Linked DNA regions of Homo sapiens: region 2 is linked to region 1. Evidence: promoter capture Hi-C in human tissues and cell types (Jung and others, 2019). All regions are on one chromosome and are shown on one strand. The core of a region is centred on a gene start or on the middle of the fragment in contact, and the rest is flanking DNA. Distances in the headings are between cores, read along the strand shown. Region 1 holds the start of COMMD10 (COMM domain containing 10). Region 2 overlaps TRIM36 (tripartite motif containing 36).

The links. The method cuts DNA at HindIII sites, captures the fragments that hold promoters and counts their contacts. A contact is called where the count stands out against the background at its distance.
Region 2: a contact is called between a fragment that was not itself captured here and the fragment with the promoter of COMMD10 in region 1, in 1 of the 25 tissues and cell types used here (spleen).

The regions. Positions count from the first base shown.
Region 1 is chr5:116,082,481-116,086,742 of GRCh38, forward strand. It overlaps COMMD10 (COMM domain containing 10), which reads left to right and starts at 2,545. Exons shown (of 7, transcript NM_016144.4): 1 at 2,545-2,613. The coding sequence starts at 2,573. RefSeq lists enhancers at 2,339-2,498, 2,792-3,086. The HindIII fragment of the contact is 16,445 bases long and covers 1-4,262 here.
Region 2 is chr5:115,160,580-115,164,841 of GRCh38, forward strand. TRIM36 (tripartite motif containing 36) reads right to left here. Exons shown (of 10, transcript NM_001300759.2): 2 at 2,939-3,173. Among named protein-coding and RNA genes, the nearest start is that of TRIM36, 7.2 kb to the right of the region's middle. The HindIII fragment of the contact is 5,784 bases long and covers 1-4,262 here.

The DNA.
Region 1 (4,262 bases), core at 1,295-3,794:
ATTTACCAAGCAAATGGGAAGCAAAAAGAAGCCGGGGTTGCAATCCTAGTTTCTAGCAAAACAGACTTTAAACCAACAAAGATCAAAAAAGACAAAGAAGGGCATTACATAATGGTAAAGGGATCAATGCAACAAGAAGAGCTAACTATCCTAAATATATATGCACCCAATATAGGAGCACCCAGATTCTAAAGCAAGTTCTTAGAGACCTACGAAGAGACTTAAGACTCCCACACAATAATAGCAGACAACTAAAAGGACTTTTCATGGACATAGATGTCTATATTCCAGAGAATGCAGAAATATCTTGGGTGAGGTTCTCATTTGAGGTGTGAAACTATTCACAGCATCACGCCTTTATAGAAACATGGTAATAAGAAGTAATCAGCCCATCATTGAAAATGAAGAGCATTAGAGTGAGTCGCCTCTGTGTCCACTGGAGACTTGCTTTTGTGAACACCTAAGAGGTCTGGGTTTTGTTTTCTAAGGAGGGTAGAATGTTTCTTTTACATACGTACCACATTATTTAAATCTCATTAAGATCCAAGGGAGCAGACATTATTCTCATCCCCATTACAGATTGGGAATGAGAAACTTGTTGAGGTTAAGTACTTTGTCCAAGGTTACATGGATTTGGGATTTGAGCCATCTTGATGCTCTTTTGCTCAAAATTCTGGCTATATATTTTTAAGGCAATCAGAGGGTGAACTTCATTAGGGATTTGAAACAGTTTTAGTTGGTTAGTGGTTCTACTTCAGGTAAGGAATCAAGACAAAAGGGAAATGATTCAAAGAATGAGGGAACTGGGACCCTTTTAAGTTGCAGATGAGGTCATCTGTGTTTGGATCAGAGACCTATAATTTATGTAGATTCACATACATCTTTTTCAGATATGCATACATTGGGGACTGTAGAGTGTTGTGGAACTAAATGTATTTGTATGTGTTCAACACACTGTATAATTGACTCAATTATCCATGTGGAGATTATTCAGATTTAATGTGCAATCTGGTTTCTCCTTTCAGTTAGGTTGTTCTTGGGCTGCTCCAGGAACTCCAACTAATTTAAATAATAATTTAAGTAAAACATAATTAGGAAGGAAAATTAAATTCAATTTTTTGGCAGCTCTTGAATATTCTACTGCTGAAACGTAACTAATCCATCCACTATCTTTTAATTCACCAATGCCTTTTTAGTACCACAGGATTTTACTGCTTTCTATAGATTATTGCAGTAGTTTCCAGGTAGCTCTCCTGCTTACCTCTTTCCATTTCAATCATCATTCTGCTGACAGCAACCTTCAAAAATCCAACTCCCACTGCAAAATTTCTTTGGTTCAAAACATTTAATGGATAGAAAAAACATTTAATGCTTACCCATTTCTCACCAGATTAAGTGCACATGCCACAACCAGTCATTAAAGGCTTTTTCTAGTCTAAATTCCTGTTCTTCAAACGTCAAACCGCCCTTCTACTCTACTGACCTGAAACACACAGCCTCACCCTCCACATCTCTGCAGACCCACCGCATTTGCCACCTGCCCTAGGGAGCTTTTCCTGATCTTACCTCGGATGCCTTTCACTGCTCCCACATCTGAATTCCTTTAACTCACTCCATGTTTTTCTCAAAGGCAGACCAAGGTATTTATGCAAACATGGTGTCTCCCTAGTCTTGGGTGAGGTCTTTGACATCACTCACTGCAGCGATTCATCTCCCCTACTCTGCACTGTCAGACTCTAAAGAAGGGTGCAACAAATACTTGTCCATTTAGACTGCCGGCAAACCCTGAGGGCAGGAATTTTGGCCTTTTGTATCTCCAGTGCCTAGAACAGTGCTTGGTACACAGTAGGCACTCATTCATTGAACGTTGCTGAAGGAATTGAACGTACATACTACAAGCCCTGCAGATGCAGATACAGGAGGGGTTGACGGCACAGTGCTTAGGGTGGAACTGGAGGCACCACCTCTCCTGAGGGGTGATGCGCCGCTTCCTGGGCAGGCTCGGGGGAGCTCGCTCAAATGCCTGCCTCTCTGTAGCCCAAACGCTGGAAAAAAAAATACTCACAAATCACCTATCCAAGTATGTACACACAGGCTCACTTAAACCCGCCCTATTAAAAAAATATACACACGCACACACCATTTATCCAAGTATGTATACACGGGCTTGCTTAAACCTGCCCTATTAAAAATAATAATGTATATATTTATGCACGAACATACACACATATATCTATACAGGTCTGTACATAGACTTGCTTAAACCTGCCCTATTAAATACAGACACACACCCCTATCCAGGTATGTACATACATATATAATATATAAATATAAAGACATATATATGCACAGACTTAACTCCAACACGATTGGAGTGTCGGGAGGGCAACTGGGCTGCCCTCTCCGCCCTCCAGGACTGCGGGACAAGTCTCCCGGCGCCCGGGTCGCAGGAGACCCGGAGCCCTAAAACGGCCCCTGCGCGGCTTGGGCCTTCCGGCTTTCCGTCCGCCGCGGCCGCCATTGGCTGGGTTCGGCGCAGCTAACAGACGGCGGCAGTGCGAGAAAGCCGAAGATGGCGGTCCCCGCGGCGCTGATCCTACGGGAGAGCCCCAGGTAGCTGATCCGTTAAGCTCTTGCGGTAGCCGCGCCCAGGAAGGCCCAGATCGGGCTCGCACAAGGCTGTCCTTGCTGCCTGCCGCCTGGGCGCCGCGGCGGGCCCGGTTGAGTGGGGTGGGGTGGGGTGGGCTGCCGAGGTTGCGACGCTGCGTCTGCGGAGTGCGTGGGGCCGTGTAGCGCCTCTACAGTCACGGTGGTCCACCTGTGGGGCTCACAGTGCGCCTGGCAGCTGAGGTCTGTACGGAAGCGTGTGGTCTGCAAGCGTGGGGTCTGCGTCACTGTTCGCGGAGTTTGGTATCAGAAGTTCCCGGGTGCTGCCTTCAGTGCTGCCGAATCACGTGGAACGGTATTCCGTTTCCGATTTCAGTTCCGGTTCAGACACTCTGGTGGGAAAGGCTCACGCTGCTGCTGGAGGGTCTTTAATAGCCAACATGTGTTAATACCCCTTTTAAATCAGTATCGAATAGGGGACCGAATTTTTGGTTGGTAGAAGAATCTAGCCTGGCTTTGGTAGCATTTGCTTTTATTTGCATTTTAAACAGATTTTTAGTTAATTTCTACTTATGGTAGATAAAGTTGGTTGTCCATGGTAGTGATATAAAGCTCCCCTTTAACATTATTTAAGTAAAAAAAGACTCAATTTGTGAAAAAATAAGCAATAGTGCAGGTAGCGTGTGGATACAGAAAAAGTACTGAAGTATATAGGCAAAATAGTGTTCGGAAGTAATTTCTTTGTGCTTGGATTGGGTAGAAATCTTTCAGAAGAAAAGAGTTATTTTAAAGTTTTTCCTTCTTTCTGGATTCCTTTTGTTACCAGTGGAGGGTGTCCAGGTTCTTGGCGTCTTGAACAAAGAACTGGAGAAGACGCACAAAGAAAGCGAGGAAAGAATGAAGAAGACATTTATTGAAAATGAAACTACCCTCCACAGTGTGGGAGCTGCTTGAGCATAGGGGCTGAAGGGCCCCTACAGAATTTTTGGGAATTTAAATACCCTCTAGAGGATTCCATTGGTTACTTGGTGTACTCCCTATGTAAATGAAGAGGATGAAGTAAAGTTACAAAGTCATTTTCTCCGCCTATGCCATATGGAGAGGACATTTCTTGTCATAGCTGAAGTGGGAATCAGCTTTATGTTCCCAGCCTCCTGACCCTATTTTCCTGCCTCACTTTGGTTCTGATCGCCAGTTTCTTTCCTCATACCAGTGTCTTGGGGAACACCGCTACATCAGTAAACTGTATCCAATATGGTGCAGTATAGAATTGTTCTCATCACATCATTTAAAGTTGATTATTACAGGAAAGGTGCTGTGGCTCATGCCTGTAATTCCAGCACTTTGGGAGGCTGAGGCGGGCTAATCTCTCTCTCTTTTTTTTCCCTGAGAGGGCGTTTCCCTCTTGTTGCGCAGGCTGGAGTGCAATGGCGCCATCTCGGCTCACTGCAGCCTCCGCCTCCTGTGTTCAAGCGATTCTCCTCCCTGAGCCTCCTGAGTAGCTGGGATTACAGGCACCCGCCACCACGCCCAGCTAATTTTTTGTATTTTTAGTAAAGATGGGGTTTCACCATGTTGGCTAGGCTGGTCTGGAACTCCTGGCTTCGGGTGATCTGTCCTCCCTGGCCTTGCAAAGTGCTGGGATTATAGGGGTG
Region 2 (4,262 bases), core at 766-3,265, 920 kb before region 1:
GTAATCCCAGCACTTTGGAAGGCCAAGGCACAAAGACTGCTTGAAGCCAGGAGTCTGAAACCAGCCTAGGCAACAAAGTGAGACCTTCTTCTCCACAAAAAAAATTTTTTAATTAGCAGGGTGCGAGTGAGTAGCATGCACCTCTAGTCTCCGGTATGTAGGAGGCTGAGGCAGGAGGATCACTTGAGCCTCAGAGTTAGAGGTTACAGTGAGCTATGATCAAGCCATTGCACTCCAGCCCAGGTAACAAACAGAGTGAGACCCTGTCTCAAATAAATGTCTAAAGGATAAAAACTTAAGAAGAAAGCTGTCAGAAAAAAAGGAATATTACTCATGAATCTACCAAAAAAAGAATTATATGCAAATGCCCAATAAATAGATGGCAAGTAACATCACATTTGCACTGCAATGACTTCTACTAGTTTAAAACTGGTGAAGGACAATCCTAAAATTTGCATTAAAACCTCCAGGAATGATTTCCATACTTACAGCATTCGCACCCTTTGGGTGCTCTCTCTTTGTTAACTTGATCTGTGTGTGTTCGTGATAAAGGACTATGCTCTAGTAATTACAGCTGTTATAAAGCTTTGCACAATGCTAAGGGGTATGTGTCTTTAAAAAAAAAAAGAAAAGAAAGTGGGTCTATCTCGCTCATTGTTCTTAACCATTTAGCCATATCTGGTAACCAGCAGGTGCTCAAATATTTGTTGAATGAATGAATGAATGCCACTGGTATTTAATAAGGCATAGAACTTCAGTGCTGGAGATATGGCATGTGACAGAACAACTGGCCCAACCTACCACCCACAGCAGAAACACCCTCCACAATATTGCAGACAGTGGCCACCCACCCATTGTTTTAAACAAAGTCTTCAGATACTGATGGCCCAAATGCTGCATGGGTCACAGCCAAAGACATGTTTTGGCTGTCCTGCCCTATTGAGCTGGTGTGGTATTGTTAAATAATCTGAATTGAAAATATTTAAAAAACAGATTTCACATGGAAACCACTATCAAGTTTTTGTGAAAAACCAATAAATCTGACAATCTGGCATCTTCAACCCTGACACTGCCAAGTGGTTACTGCCCCCTTTAACAAGGCATCCGTTTCAGTCTCCACAGTCCCAAACCACACTCTACTTCTCCAATAAGGAGTCGTAAAATCAGTTGGCTGCTGTCACTTTGGGCTGATGGTTTTCTTACAGTAGTTGAGCTAAAGGGAAAATCAAATATTTATTGTCTCCATATTTACAGCGAAAAACTAAAATGAAGGAGAGTCCTATATTTATTATGCCTGGGGCTCTCTTCATTAATGCACCCGTTTGGCCCTGCAGCATCTAAATTTGACACCTGATGTAAACACATTTAGTGGCAGAAGTCTGATATACTTAGCCCATTTCATTTCTGGACAGCCTTAGTGGGGTGTGTGTGCGCGTGTGTCTTCTTTCATGCTAAGTTAAATCTGCCTTCCTATTCCATCTACTCATTGACCTGGAACCTCTGCTAGAGATATCCAGCATACTCATTCTATCCATAAGAAAACTATCATATTCTGCAGTCACCCCTTCTCATCTCCTGTAACTGTTCTTTACAGAGAAAAGTTTTCAAACTCCACCATTCTAAGTTTCCCCTCTCAGGACATAATCTAACTTCGTAGGGTTCTTCCTAAAGAAGAGGGAGAAACATCCCAGTAATGCTATTTCGGATCTAGACAGTGAAATGTATGGTGTAATGGAGCTCATATTCCAAAAGACAAATGCCATTATTACTGAATATAAGCCATTGTGGCACTCTCTGTACAAATCCTGTGGCAGAGGTTTCTCATTCAACATCCATTCAACAAATATTTATTAAGCATCTACAGAGTACCATGTCAGGTAAATTCCTGAAAACAGAAAATCATTCATCTTGTTCTTCATATGAATCACATAAAAAACTAGCCAAATCTTAACATTAAAAGCCTACAGAATTTTGTGAAATATGTATATAAGTGCAATCTAATTATAAGTAGAAATATCTAGTACATAACTAAAATTTTATTTGTTTTTGCTAAATATTAACATACAAAAAGTTTTCTTTGGTCAATCAAGCATGGGTTCCCAATTAGCCAATGAAGATCTACCAGCAGAATATCAAGTTTTATCTAGTAGGACTGATTTCAAGGGATGCTGTCTTTCCCTCCTCAGTGCGCCAGATTGGCAGCAAGGGAGGAAACATAAAGGTGATGACTAGCCATTAGGTAGTCCCACTCCTTAACTCTGCAGTATTTATTTTCCTATTACCATATATGAATGTTTTCCTAGTTAGTATTTCAGTAGTCCATTATTCTATGTATCAAGTACATTGCACAGTCAGAATAATTCCTAAAGACAAACATAGCTTTTTTTTTTTTTTTGAGACAGAGTTTCACTCTTGTTGCCCAGGCTGGAGTGCAATGGCGCGATCTCGGCTCACTGCAACCTCCGCCTCCCAGGTTCAAGCAATTCTCCTGACTCAGACTCCCAGGTAGCTGGGGTTACAGGCACGCGTCACCACACCTAGCTCATTTTGTATTTTTAGTAGAGATGGAGTTTCTCCATGTTGGTCAGGCTGGTCTTGAACTCATGACCTCAGGTGATCCACCCGACATGGCCTCCCAAAGTGCTGGGATTACAGGTGTGAGCCACTGTGCCCAGACTTACAAACACAGTTAATAAGGAGTTTAACACAAAGTTCATGTTCAATATCCAATATCTACTTCAAGTATGTATCAAAAGACGAGAGTTCATTTTGACATTTTAACAGTGGGGGAGGCCCCTTTATAACTACAGTTTTAATTTATTCACCTGGAAAAATTAACTCTCAAGATGACAAAAATAATTTTCCTTCCAGTTACCACTGAATATATATCTATAAGCTTACCCCCACTACCATCCCAGCCCACAGTTCTAACACATACCTGGTCTGTTAATTCGGTCAATTTTATCCATACTAGGGGAGGGGAGCCGAAGTCGAGGACTGCTTTGATTGGAGTTGTCTGATCCCACATCGTTGAATGAATCATCGAGAGTCAGCAGGAGTTCTTTTACACATTTATGACAGATACTATGTTGGCAAGGGAGAATCAATGGGTGGGTAAACAGCTCCTTGCATGCTGGGCAAATGAGCTCCCTTTCGATATTCTTAATGGTAACCTTGAGAGTAAAATAGTCCAAGTTAAAGGCTCTTAGTGGGTAAATATATTAACATTCTTATACCTCCTGAATAAGTACATGTGTTTATTTTTCCAAAAAGAATTAAGAAAATGATTTTCTAAATTTTAAATTTCTTTTCCCCAATAAAATTTGATACCATCAACTGCCCTCAACACCCATAACCCAGAACTGAAGGAACATGAGATAGTAAAAGGCAAAAATGAAGAGAAAAATTATGTAAAATATTAGGGGACCATGATATTTTATCAAAAATTATAAAGCCATCATTCGAATCTCCATCACCAGTGCACTGATTTAGGACTTCGGTGAAATCCTAAAAGTAGATCATGTCAATAAAAATTTTGAATACAGCACTAAGAGTAAGACTATATTCTTATTTAGTGAATTAACACTGTGACTGACAAATAACAGGAGCTATTAAACACTAGCTGAGTCAGTATGTTCATGGAAACCTAGTTGGTATCTATTTACAAGCTGAATTATCAGCAATTTTCTACATTAAATGCGACCATTCTTCATTAATGCCTGAGGTTCTCATGCTGTATATCAAAGCAATTATCTTAAAAGCACTTTATGAGTATGTATTAGTCCATTTTCACACTGCTATAAAGAAAATTACCTGAGGCTGGGTAATTTATAAAGAAAAGAGATTTAAGTGACTCACAGTTCCACATGGCTAGGGAGTCCTCAAGAAACTTACAATCATGGCAGAAGGGGAAGCAGATCTGTGTTACGTGGTGGCAGGTGAGAGAGAGCAAGAGCAGGGATACTGCCTTACAAAACCATCAGATCTTATGAGAATTCGCTATCACAAGAACAGCATGGGGAAAATCTACCCCTGTGATTCAATGGCCTCCCACCAGGTCTCTCCCTCAACACCTTGGGATTACAATTCAAGATAAGATTTGAACCTAACCATATCATTGTGGCCCTGGCCCCTCCCAAATCTCATGTCCTCACATTTCAAAACCAATCATGCTTCCAAACAGTCCCCCAAAGTCTTAACTCATTTCAGCATTAGCTCAAAAGTCCAAGTCCAAAGTCTCATCTGAGACAAAGCAAGTCCCT